2 separate regions of the Homo sapiens genome follow, and region 2 is linked to region 1. Evidence: promoter capture Hi-C in 16 types of primary human blood cells and fetal thymus (Javierre and others, 2016). All regions are on one chromosome and are shown on one strand. The core of a region is centred on a gene start or on the middle of the fragment in contact, and the rest is flanking DNA. Distances in the headings are between cores, read along the strand shown.

What was found. The method cuts DNA at HindIII sites, captures the fragments that hold promoters and counts their contacts. A CHiCAGO score of 5 or more calls a contact.
Region 2: a fragment that was not itself captured here is called in contact with the fragment with the promoter of ZMYND15 in region 1 in 3 of 17 cell types (M0 macrophages, monocytes and M1 macrophages); the score reaches 9.8 in M0 macrophages.

Annotation. Positions count from the first base shown.
Region 1 is chr17:4,737,884-4,743,022 of GRCh38, forward strand. ZMYND15 (zinc finger MYND-type containing 15) reads left to right here and starts at 1,950. Exons shown (of 14, transcript NM_001136046.3): 1 at 1,950-2,167; 2 at 2,636-3,257; 3 at 3,699-3,933; 4 at 4,032-4,187; 5 at 4,448-4,608. The coding sequence starts at 2,666. CXCL16 (C-X-C motif chemokine ligand 16) reads right to left here and starts at 2,045. Exons shown (of 6, transcript NM_001386809.1): 1 at 1,378-2,045; 2 at 899-1,037; 3 at 525-607. The coding sequence starts at 1,456. RefSeq lists enhancers at 558-1,463, 1,464-2,368 and a silencer at 1,917-2,136. The HindIII fragment of the contact is 8,207 bases long and covers 1-4,913 here.
Region 2 is chr17:4,963,451-4,967,916 of GRCh38, forward strand. It overlaps SPAG7 (sperm associated antigen 7), which reads right to left and starts at 4,367. Exons shown (of 7, transcript NM_004890.3): 1 at 4,270-4,367. The coding sequence starts at 4,354. LOC124900387 (a long non-coding RNA gene) reads right to left here and starts at 4,263. Exons shown (of 2, transcript XR_007065587.1): 1 at 2,951-4,263; 2 at 2,372-2,869. RefSeq lists enhancers at 2,056-2,733, 3,412-4,089, 4,003-4,466, 4,090-4,466. The HindIII fragment of the contact is 2,419 bases long and covers 570-2,988 here.

The sequences.
Region 1 (5,139 bases), core at 700-3,199:
CACTTTTGGAGGCCGAGGCGGGTGGATCACAAGGCCAGGAGTTCGAGACCAGCCTGGCCAACATGGTGAAACCCTGTCTCTACTAAAAATACAAAAATTAGCCAGGCTTGGTGGTGCGCGCCTGTAATCCCAGCTACTCAGGAGGCTGAGGCAGGAGAATCTCTTGAACCTGGGAGGCAGAGGTTGCAGTGAGCCAAGATCGTGCCACTGCACTCCAGCCTGGGTGACAGAGTGAGACTCCATCTCAAAAAAATAAAATAAAATAGTACTTTGATTTCAAGAAAAATATTAATAAGTAGACAATAGCACACGTGGTAGAATGAATTGGCAAAACTCATGAAGGTGATGGTGAATGATCACCCCGTTTGGCAAACAGGGACTCGAGTCTAAGTACTTTGGACAGGATCAGAAGAAGGTTCTAGGAATGTGCGGCCCCAGGGGAAAAGGCTCAGGTAAAGAAAACTGTCAGGTGGAAGCTGCTAAGCCCTGGAGGCAGAGCCTGAAGAGCAGTGGAAAAGTCTCACCTTTGAGATCAAGACAGCTCATCAATTCCTGAACCCATGGGTCCTTGTTGCCCCCACACACGCTCCAGGAAAGGAGCTGGAACCTGCGGAGGAGAGACCTGGGCTTAGCTGCGGCGCCTTCTTTCCTTCCCCGGCTCCTTCCTCATTCCAGAGGCGTGAAGTTGCCACCAAGAAAGAGCCCTTTCTCCTGGGACTGGGAAACTCCCCAGTAGGTGAGACGGAGTCATGAAGTTTCGGGGAATGAGAGCAAACGGAACCCGGAGATGGGGCTCGGTGAGCCGGGAAGGAGTTCAGGCTGGACCAGAGAGGGTCCTGGAGGCACCTGCAAGGAGGGGCCGCCCAGGCGCTGCCCTCGCAGAGGCAGGTAAAATTACCTCGTGTAGTATAGACACCGATGGTAAGCTCTCAGGTGTTTCCGGAGACGATTCATGAACTGAACCGATGGCGGGGAGTCGGAAGAAATTCTTTTACCACAATAACAACTTCCAGTGACGCTGCCCTCGTTGCCATTGCCTGCGCGGGACGGAGGTGGTCGGCACCCATTCCCAGGCCCAGGGTCCCCACTCCGCTGTTCCCTGGCATCCAATCCACAGCCCCATGACAGCCTCTCGGTGGACCCAGGGTCAGAGCGCCAGGCTCAACCCACACATCATCACGCCCCCGACAACATCCATAATCCCGCCCGGAGCCAGGCGTCCCCGGGCCTCTGTCCCCAACCCCAGGCGGCTGGCTGGCTTTCCTCTTGTCCCCGCTGCCTTCATCCACTCAACTCCGTGGGCCTCGTGTCCCCTCCCCAACTCACCCCCTTCCCGTGACAGGGGAATCTGGGTCCCCTGCCCCGCCCCCGGCTAACCTGGCTGAGTCAGGTACACCAGCAGGAGCAGAAGCAGGAGCAGGAGCACGCGGGACCCGGGCCGCAAGTCCCGTCCCATCTCGGGGCTCCGCGGACTCTGCGGGGATGGAGCCACCTCGCTCTGACTCCCAGACATGCTCCGGCGCGTGACGTCCAGCTGGTGTCTCAATGGCTTTCGCCGGGGACCGGAGGAGACGGCGGCCGGAGAGGAGGCGCGAGCCAGCTGCACCCCCCGGCCCTGCTGTGCCCCGACCGTGCGCTCAGTACTCGGCCCGCGCCATGCCAGCCTCTGGACGCAGGGAAAGCCGAGGAGGTGGAGCTCCCGCGCCCTGCGCCCCCGCACTGGGCCCGGCTCCGTCGAGGGAAGGCCAGGAATCTTGGAAGAAACCGAAAGAAAACTCCGGCGGCGGGCGAGGAGGGGCGGGAGGACGACGGCCCGAGGAGCCGATTCGGTTCGGTTCAGGAGGCCGCCCGCCTGGCCCGTCCGCCGACCTGTGAGGCGGCTGCACTGCCGGACCGGCCCTCCTCCTCCGAGGCACTTTCACTTCCCCGATCCGGGCGCCGCGGGACCCAGCCGCGCTGCATGAGCCTCCCGGGCGGCCCGGTGGAGAGAGTCGCCGCCAGCCCCGGCCGCGCGCACCTGCGGGGCAGCCACCCGCGGACGCACCGAGCCCGGGGGGCGTGGCCGCCCGCTGAGCCGGCGAGGGCTCGGGCAGCCCTGACGTCACAACCGCACCCGCGCACCCTCCACCGCGAGGTATTTACCTTCGAAAAGTGGTGGCGGCTGCAGGTACCGGAGGAGTGGGGCGGCCGGGAGGGGCTAGGTCTACCGGGGCTGCCCGCCACGCAGATCCGAGCCCAGGGAACCCCCTCGCTCCCACTCCCATACCCCACAGACGCATCCAAAATGCTTCCCTCCCCACCAAACCGTTCCCGATAGGATTAGCCCTCTCTCCTCTCTAGCCTTAATTTAAACTCTGCTTTTGAGGGTGTGAACTCTCCAATTTTAAGCCCCAAATACCATCTCATCCCTGAGTAGTCTTCTCCAACCCTGGTCACCCACTTTCAAGTCCAGCCCCCATTTTCCTCCCTAAACTCCCATCCTCAGCCCTGAAAAATCCTCTTCTCCGCTCCTAGCATATCCACGGATCCAACCCTAAGTGACTCTCAAACCTACCCTCTCCCTCAATTTGTGACCCAGCCCCAAACTCCATCATTGCTCTCCTGTCCCTCACCATATATCCCTTCTTTTGCTCAGTCTGGGCCGGGGCCCTGTGCCGCTGAAGACATGGAGTTTGTGTCTGGATACCGGGATGAGTTCCTTGATTTCACTGCCCTTCTCTTCGGCTGGTTCCGAAAGTTTGTGGCAGAGCGTGGAGCTGTAGGGACTAGCCTTGAGGGCCGCTGCCGGCAGCTGGAGGCCCAGATCAGAAGGCTACCCCAGGACCCTGCCCTTTGGGTGCTCCATGTCCTGCCCAACCATAGTGTGGGCATCAGCCTGGGGCAAGGGGCAGAACCAGGTCCTGGACCAGGCCTGGGGACTGCCTGGCTCCTGGGAGACAACCCTCCACTCCACCTGCGAGACCTGAGCCCCTACATCAGCTTTGTCAGCCTAGAGGATGGGGAGGAAGGGGAGGAGGAAGAGGAGGAAGATGAAGAAGAAGAGAAGAGAGAGGACGGGGGTGCAGGCAGCACAGAGAAGGTGGAACCAGAGGAGGACCGGGAGCTAGCCCCTACCAGCAGGGAGTCCCCCCAGGAAACAAACCCTCCAGGAGAGTCAGAGGAGGCTGCCCGGGAGGCAGGAGGTGGCAAGGATGGCTGCCGAGAGGACAGGGTGGAGAACGAAACAAGACCCCAGAAGAGGAAGGGACAGAGGAGTGGTAAGAACCCAGGGCTGGCCCTGCCCTACCCCTTGCCCAGCCATCCTCCCTTCGGAAGCCCTCCCCTGCCACTAGTTCTGAGTGCTGGCCTTCAGGCCAATCTGGCCTGAAAAGGTGTTTTTATTGACCCACAGTGGGGTTTTTTTTTTTAATTTAATGTTTAAACATTGCAAGAAAAAAAGTATCCAGAAGTCTGGATTTACACATTCCCAAGAAAAATCTCAAGCTCTGACAGTGGGCCTACATTTCTGCATGGCAGCGCATTCTGGTCCTCTGTAGCAGCTGTCCCCTTTAGAAGGAGCGTGCCCTCTCTACCCAGAGCCCTTTACTCAGTGAGGTTACTTGCCTAGCCCCGTAGGTATTTGAGTTTGGTACTCCTGACCCTGACCACATTTGTCTCTCGCTGCCCCCTACCACCTCAACTTTTCCCTCTTTCCCCAGAGGCTGCCCCCCTGCACGTTTCCTGTCTCTTACTTGTGACGGATGAGCATGGCACCATCTTGGGCATTGATCTGCTAGTGGATGGAGCCCAGGGAACCGCAAGCTGGGGCTCAGGGACCAAGGACCTGGCTCCTTGGGCCTATGCTCTCCTCTGTCACAGCATGGCCTGTCCCATGGGCTCTGGGGATCCCCGAAAGCCCCGACAGCTTACTGTGGGAGATGCCCGGCTGCATCGGTATAGAAATCTGGTATCTGAGGCTGGGGAGGACTCGGGCCCTGGATTCCCAAGCACCTCCTCCAGCCTGATGCCATCTCCCCCCCAACTGCATTTAGAGAGCTGGAGAGCTTGGTCCCAAGGCTAGGTGTGAAGTTAGCCAAAACCCCAATGCGGACATGGGGTCCCCGGCCAGGCTTCACCTTTGCTTCCCTTCGTGCTCGAACCTGCCATGTGTGTCACAGGCACAGCTTTGAAGCGAAGCTGACACCTTGGTGAGCAGCCCCAAAGCTGGGGGAGAGGAAGACCCCAATAGGCAAATAGAAGGAAGGCAGGGTGGTGGGGGGCGCCTAGCAGACAGAAGGAGAGGCAGGGACATGAGAAGATGCAGAGGAAACAATACAGACTGTTACAGGCGGTTAGAGGGTGTAAGACAAACAGACCGAGTGACATATGGGCAGCTGCTGGGCAGTTGAACAGCAGACAGGACCTACAGAGGTTAACACTAGGTGCCCACCACCCGCTGTGTCCCCAGCCCCCAGTGTAGTGCTGTCTTGTATTGTGGAGAGGCTTGTCTCCGGGCTGACTGGCAGCGGTGCCCAGATGATGTGAGTCACCGATTTTGGTGCCCAAGGCTTGCAGCCTTCATGGAGCGGGCAGGAGAACTGGCAACCCTGCCTTTTACCTACACCGCAGGTACCATAAGGAGGTCAGAATGGTTGGGGGAAACTGGGACCAGGTCTTTGAGACTGGGAATTAGATGTCTGGGAACAGGGTCCTGCAGTTGAAGGCTGAGTGTCTGGGGCTAGAGCCTAGATCCCTGGAACAAGGGCAGGGGCTGGGTGTTTGGGGCTGGAGACAGGGTCTCTGAAGCCGAGGCCTGAGTGTCTGGGTCCCTGAGAGCGTGCAGGGATTGGGGGACAGGGATTCAAACACTTACTTGCTTCCCAGCTCCACCACTAACTGCAGTGTGACCTTAAACAAACCACTTTACTTCTTGAAGCTTCCGTGTCCTCATGAGGGATACGGAGAAGGCCCATGGAATTGTTACAAGGATTATCTTGGCTTGGTGCCTGGTACGCTGGAGGCACTCAGAAATGGTAGTTCCCGGCCTGACTGGAACCAGACTTAGAACCAGGGTCCTCGCGGGAGGCTAGGGAGAGTTCAAGGCTGGGGTTCTAGGCCGGGCAATGGTTCACACCCGTAATCCCAGCACTTTGGGAGGCC
Region 2 (4,466 bases), core at 529-3,028, 230 kb after region 1:
ATTTTTTTTTTTTTTTTTTTTTTTTTGAGATGGAATCTCGCTTTGTCGCCCAGGCTGGAGTGCAGTGGCACGATCTTGGCTCACTGCAACCTCCGCCTCCTGGGTTCAAGCGATTCTTCTGCCTCAGCCTCCTGAGTAGCTGGGACTATAGGCATGTGCCACCACGCCCAGCTAATTTTTGTATTTTTAGTAGAGATGGGGTTTCACCATATTGGCCAGGCTGGTCTCGAACTCCTGACCTTGTGATCCACCTGCCTCGGCCTCCCAAAGTGCCAGGATTACAGGCTTGAGCCACCGTGCCCAGCTGGAAAGGGGAAATTATTTAACTTTCTATATTTTGTAAAATCCCCCACTTCCCACTTCTATAGACAGGATGAAGCTGAAATAGATAATCTGACACCCTTCTCCTTTGGGAGTGTAGGTGTCCAAGGTTAGCTGTGAAGGGTCTTCTTTTTCTGAACTCTTGGGCTCAAGGTATCTGCCTGCCTCTTGCCTGAAGATGCCCGAGACCCCATCTTTACAGAAAACTTTTTTTAAAAAAATTAGCCAGGTCTGGGTGCAGAGACTCAAGCTTCTCAAGCAATTTGAGAGGCCGAGGTGGGAGGATCACTTGAGGCTGGGAGTTCAAGACCAGCCTCCCAAAGTGCTGGGATTTCAGCTGTGAGTCCCCTCGCCTGGCTAAGGGTCTTATTTAACTTTCTTCCTCTTCCTTAGATCCTGCCTCTGCGCCAGATCCCCTCTGCCTCTGGAGGAGGAGGAAGAATTTCTAACCCGGGCCCTCCATGCTTGCCTGTCTTCCCCACGATGTGATTTTACTACCTCTAGAGATTTGGGTGCATGCTTCTTCCTACTCCTGCTCCTCAGCCTGAAATTTTTTTCTCTTTTGCCATTTCAAATCCTTTACATCTTTTTTTTTTTTTTTTTTTTTTGAGACGGAGTCTCGCTCTGTCGCCCAGGCTGGAGTGCAGTGGCGCAATCTCCGCTCACTGCAAGCTCCGCCTCCCGGGTTCACGCCATTCTCCTGCCTCAGCCTCCCAAGTAGCTGGGACTACAGGCGCCCGCCACCACGCCTGGAGAATTTTTTGTATTTTTAGTGGAGACAAGGTTTCACCGTTTTAGCCAGGATGGTCTTGATCTCCTGACCTCATGATCCACCCGCCTCGGCCTCCCAAAGTGCTGGGATTATAGGCGTGAGCCACCGCACCCGGCCAAATCCTTTACATCTTTAAGGCCTCCTTCTTCCCCAGGATCTGAATCCTCTCCAGCTGCACTGAACCTCTCCCCATCATTTATTTATTTATTTCGAGACAGAGTCTCGCTGTGTGCCCAGGCTGGAGTGCAGTGGCGCGATCTCGGCTCACTGCAACCTCTGCCTCCCGGGTTCCAGTGATTCTCATGCCTCAGCCTCCCGAGTAGCTGGGATTACAGGTGTGAACCACCACACCCGGCTAATTTTTTTTTTCTTTTTCTTTTTTTGAGATGGAGTTTCGCTCTCTTTGCCCAGGCTGGAGTGCAATGGTGCAATCTTGGCTCACTGCAACCTCTGCCTCCCGGGTTCAAGTGATTCTCCTGCCTCAGCCTCCCGAGTAGCTGGGATCACAGGCATGTGCCACTACACCTGGCTAATTTTTTCATTTTTAGTAGAGATGGGCTTTCTTCTCCATGTTGGTCAGGCTGGTCTCGAACTCCCGACGTCAGGTGATCCGCCCGCCTCAGCCTCCCAAAGTGTTGGGATTACAGGCGTGAGCCACCACGCCCGCCCATTTTTTTGTATTTTTCGTAGAGACGATGTTTCGCCATGTTGGCCAGCCTGGTTTTGAACTCCTGACCTCAAGTGATCTGCCCGCCTCAGCCTCCCAAAGTGCTGGGATTATAGGCATGAGCCCTCTCCCCATTTTTCAAATAACTCCATGCCTTTGCACACGTTGTTCCTCTGCTTGGAATGCTTTTCCTCCTCTTGCAAACATTGAGATCTACCGTGAGTCAGTTACTTCTTCCCCTGGGCTCCAAGCTCCTTTGGCTGAGACACCCAGCAGCATAGACAGAGAACTAACGTATCATAACTTCTTTTTTTTTTGTCTCCTTCAGCATAGTATGAGCTCCTGGAGGGCAGGGACCCTGTTGATCTACTGTTCAGTTATCCTCTGGAGCCCCAGGGCCTGACAGCTTATGAGCTCTCATCCCTCTGTCCTCACTGACCATCAGCGCATTTCATCTTTTGTTGTTGGAAACAGTCTCAACTTCATCGCCCAAAATGGAGTGCAGTGGCGCAATCACCTCTCACTGCAGCTTCAACCTCCCAGACTCAAGCGATTCTCCCACCTCAGCCTCCCGAGAATTGGGACCATAGGAGCGCGCCACCAAGCCCAGCTAATGTTTATTTATTTATTTATTTATTTATCTATTTATTTATTTATTTATGAGACGGAGTCTCGCTCTGTCGCCAGGCTGGAGTACAGTGGCGCAATCTCGGCTCACTGCAACCTCCTCCTCCTGGGTTCAACTGATTCTCCTGCCCCAGCCTCCTGAGTAGCTGGGACTACAGGCACGCGCCACCACGCCCAGCTAATTTTCGTATTTTTAGTAGAGACGGGGTTTCACCATGTTGGCCAGGATGCTCTCGATCTCTTGATCTCGTGATCTGCCCGCCTTGGCCTCCCAAAGTTTTGGGATTACAGGCGTGAGCCCGGCCAATTTTTGTATTTTTTGTAGAGATGGGGTTTCTCCATGTTGCCCAGACTGGTCTTGAACTCCTGGGCTCAAGCGATCCGTCCGCCGCGGCCTCCCAAAGTGGTGGTATTAAAGGTGTGAGCTACAAGGCCGGGCCCCACTGACTGTTCTTTAACTGGTTTTCGAGTCTTCTCTGCATCTAGAGAAGTGGCACAAGATTATGGTCAAGAACATAGGCTTCGAGCCCAGTCATACCTGGGTTTGAAACCCTGCCACTTACCAAACTAACCATGTGACCTCAGGCGAGTGACTCATTTAAGCTTCCCAGTCTGTCAATGCCGGGTGATCCCCCACTTAGACAGTCATCGGAGCATTAGAGAATTCCAGTTCCCCATTCCCATCATGCTTCCTCCTTTCTCAGAGATTTCAAATAGACTCTTCTGCCTGTAACGCTTTGCTTCTCTCTCTCATTTACGGAATTACCTGTTCTGATCTCGGCTCACTGCAGATTGGGGGAGAACCTCAGGTGGCCGCTCTCACAGTTATTTTTCTCTCAGAGCACTTATCAAGTTGGTTATTAAACTTACGTGTGATCACTGCATCAATGAGCGCCCCAGCCCCGGACTGTGGCCTCCCTGAGGGGTACCCCTGGTCCCTAACGGTTGTTCAAGAAACAAGGGGACGAAGCGTAGGCAACCAGCGGCCCTTGAATACTTGGAAGGCGTCCTGCCTGCTCTGGTCCCCCTGGGGCACGTGGGGAGCTGGGACAGGGCTCGTCCGTGGTCAAGGTCCGCAGGTTTGGGAGTTGGGGTCCTGCGTTCCGCCAGTATCATCCCAAGCTGCAACACGAGCAGCCCCGGGGAGGCTCCCACCGCCCTGCAGGGCCGCGCCCTACGCCGGCCGCCGAACTCCAGCCCACCCGCAGGGAAGCTACTCCGAGAACGCAGGCGGAGACAGTGGCCAATCGGACCCGGCGGGTATTCTCATCCCTCCAATCAACACTACGATCCGCCCGGGCAGCTCGGGAATTTAAGGCTACGGATGGGAAAAAGGTTGTCGGAGGGAGGCAGAAGGGACTGGGTTAAATTAAGCAGGAGGGGCAAGAACACACAGAGGACCCTGCAACCAATGGGAATTCGCAGGCTGGGGTGGTTTCGAAGGAAGGTCGAACAGGCCTGAGGAGGCAGAGCTTTAAGTTGAGATAGCCAATAGAGATGAAGGCACAGTAGATGGCGTGTCCTAAATCCAATCGAAATAGAGCTAGAGGTGAGCGGGGCAGGAATGCGGCAGGTTGGAGGCACCCTACCAATCAGACCAGGTCAGCAGCGGACAGGCGGGACGGCCGGCTAATGGGAAACAAGGACTGCGGAAGGCCAGGGTCGGGAGAAGAGGCAGGAGGCTGGCGCTATCTTTCAGGTAGCCAATCACTGTCCGCTAAGAACAGCGGGCGTGTCAGCAGCCCTTTTAGGGACTCTGAGGGTCTCGGAAGGGGCCTGTGAGGGGTCTTTCAAGGTTGAGGAGGCGGCATCGTCCAAAGAGGGAGAAGTATGGTCCCGAGAACCGGGCGAAGGAAGGCGGTTGTGAATTTGGGATCCTCACCTCGGGCCTTGCGCCGAGTCTCCTGGTCACCGAGGCTGGGTGGCTTCTCCATGGAGCTCAGGATGGAGCCCAGTAGGTCCGCCATCTTGGGAGTGACTGAGAGGGGGCGGTGCGTCTTAAAGGGAAGGGCGGAATGCCTTTAAGGCCGGAAACACGTCGGAGGCGGAAAACCCTGGGCCCGCCTGGCCTGGGCGCAG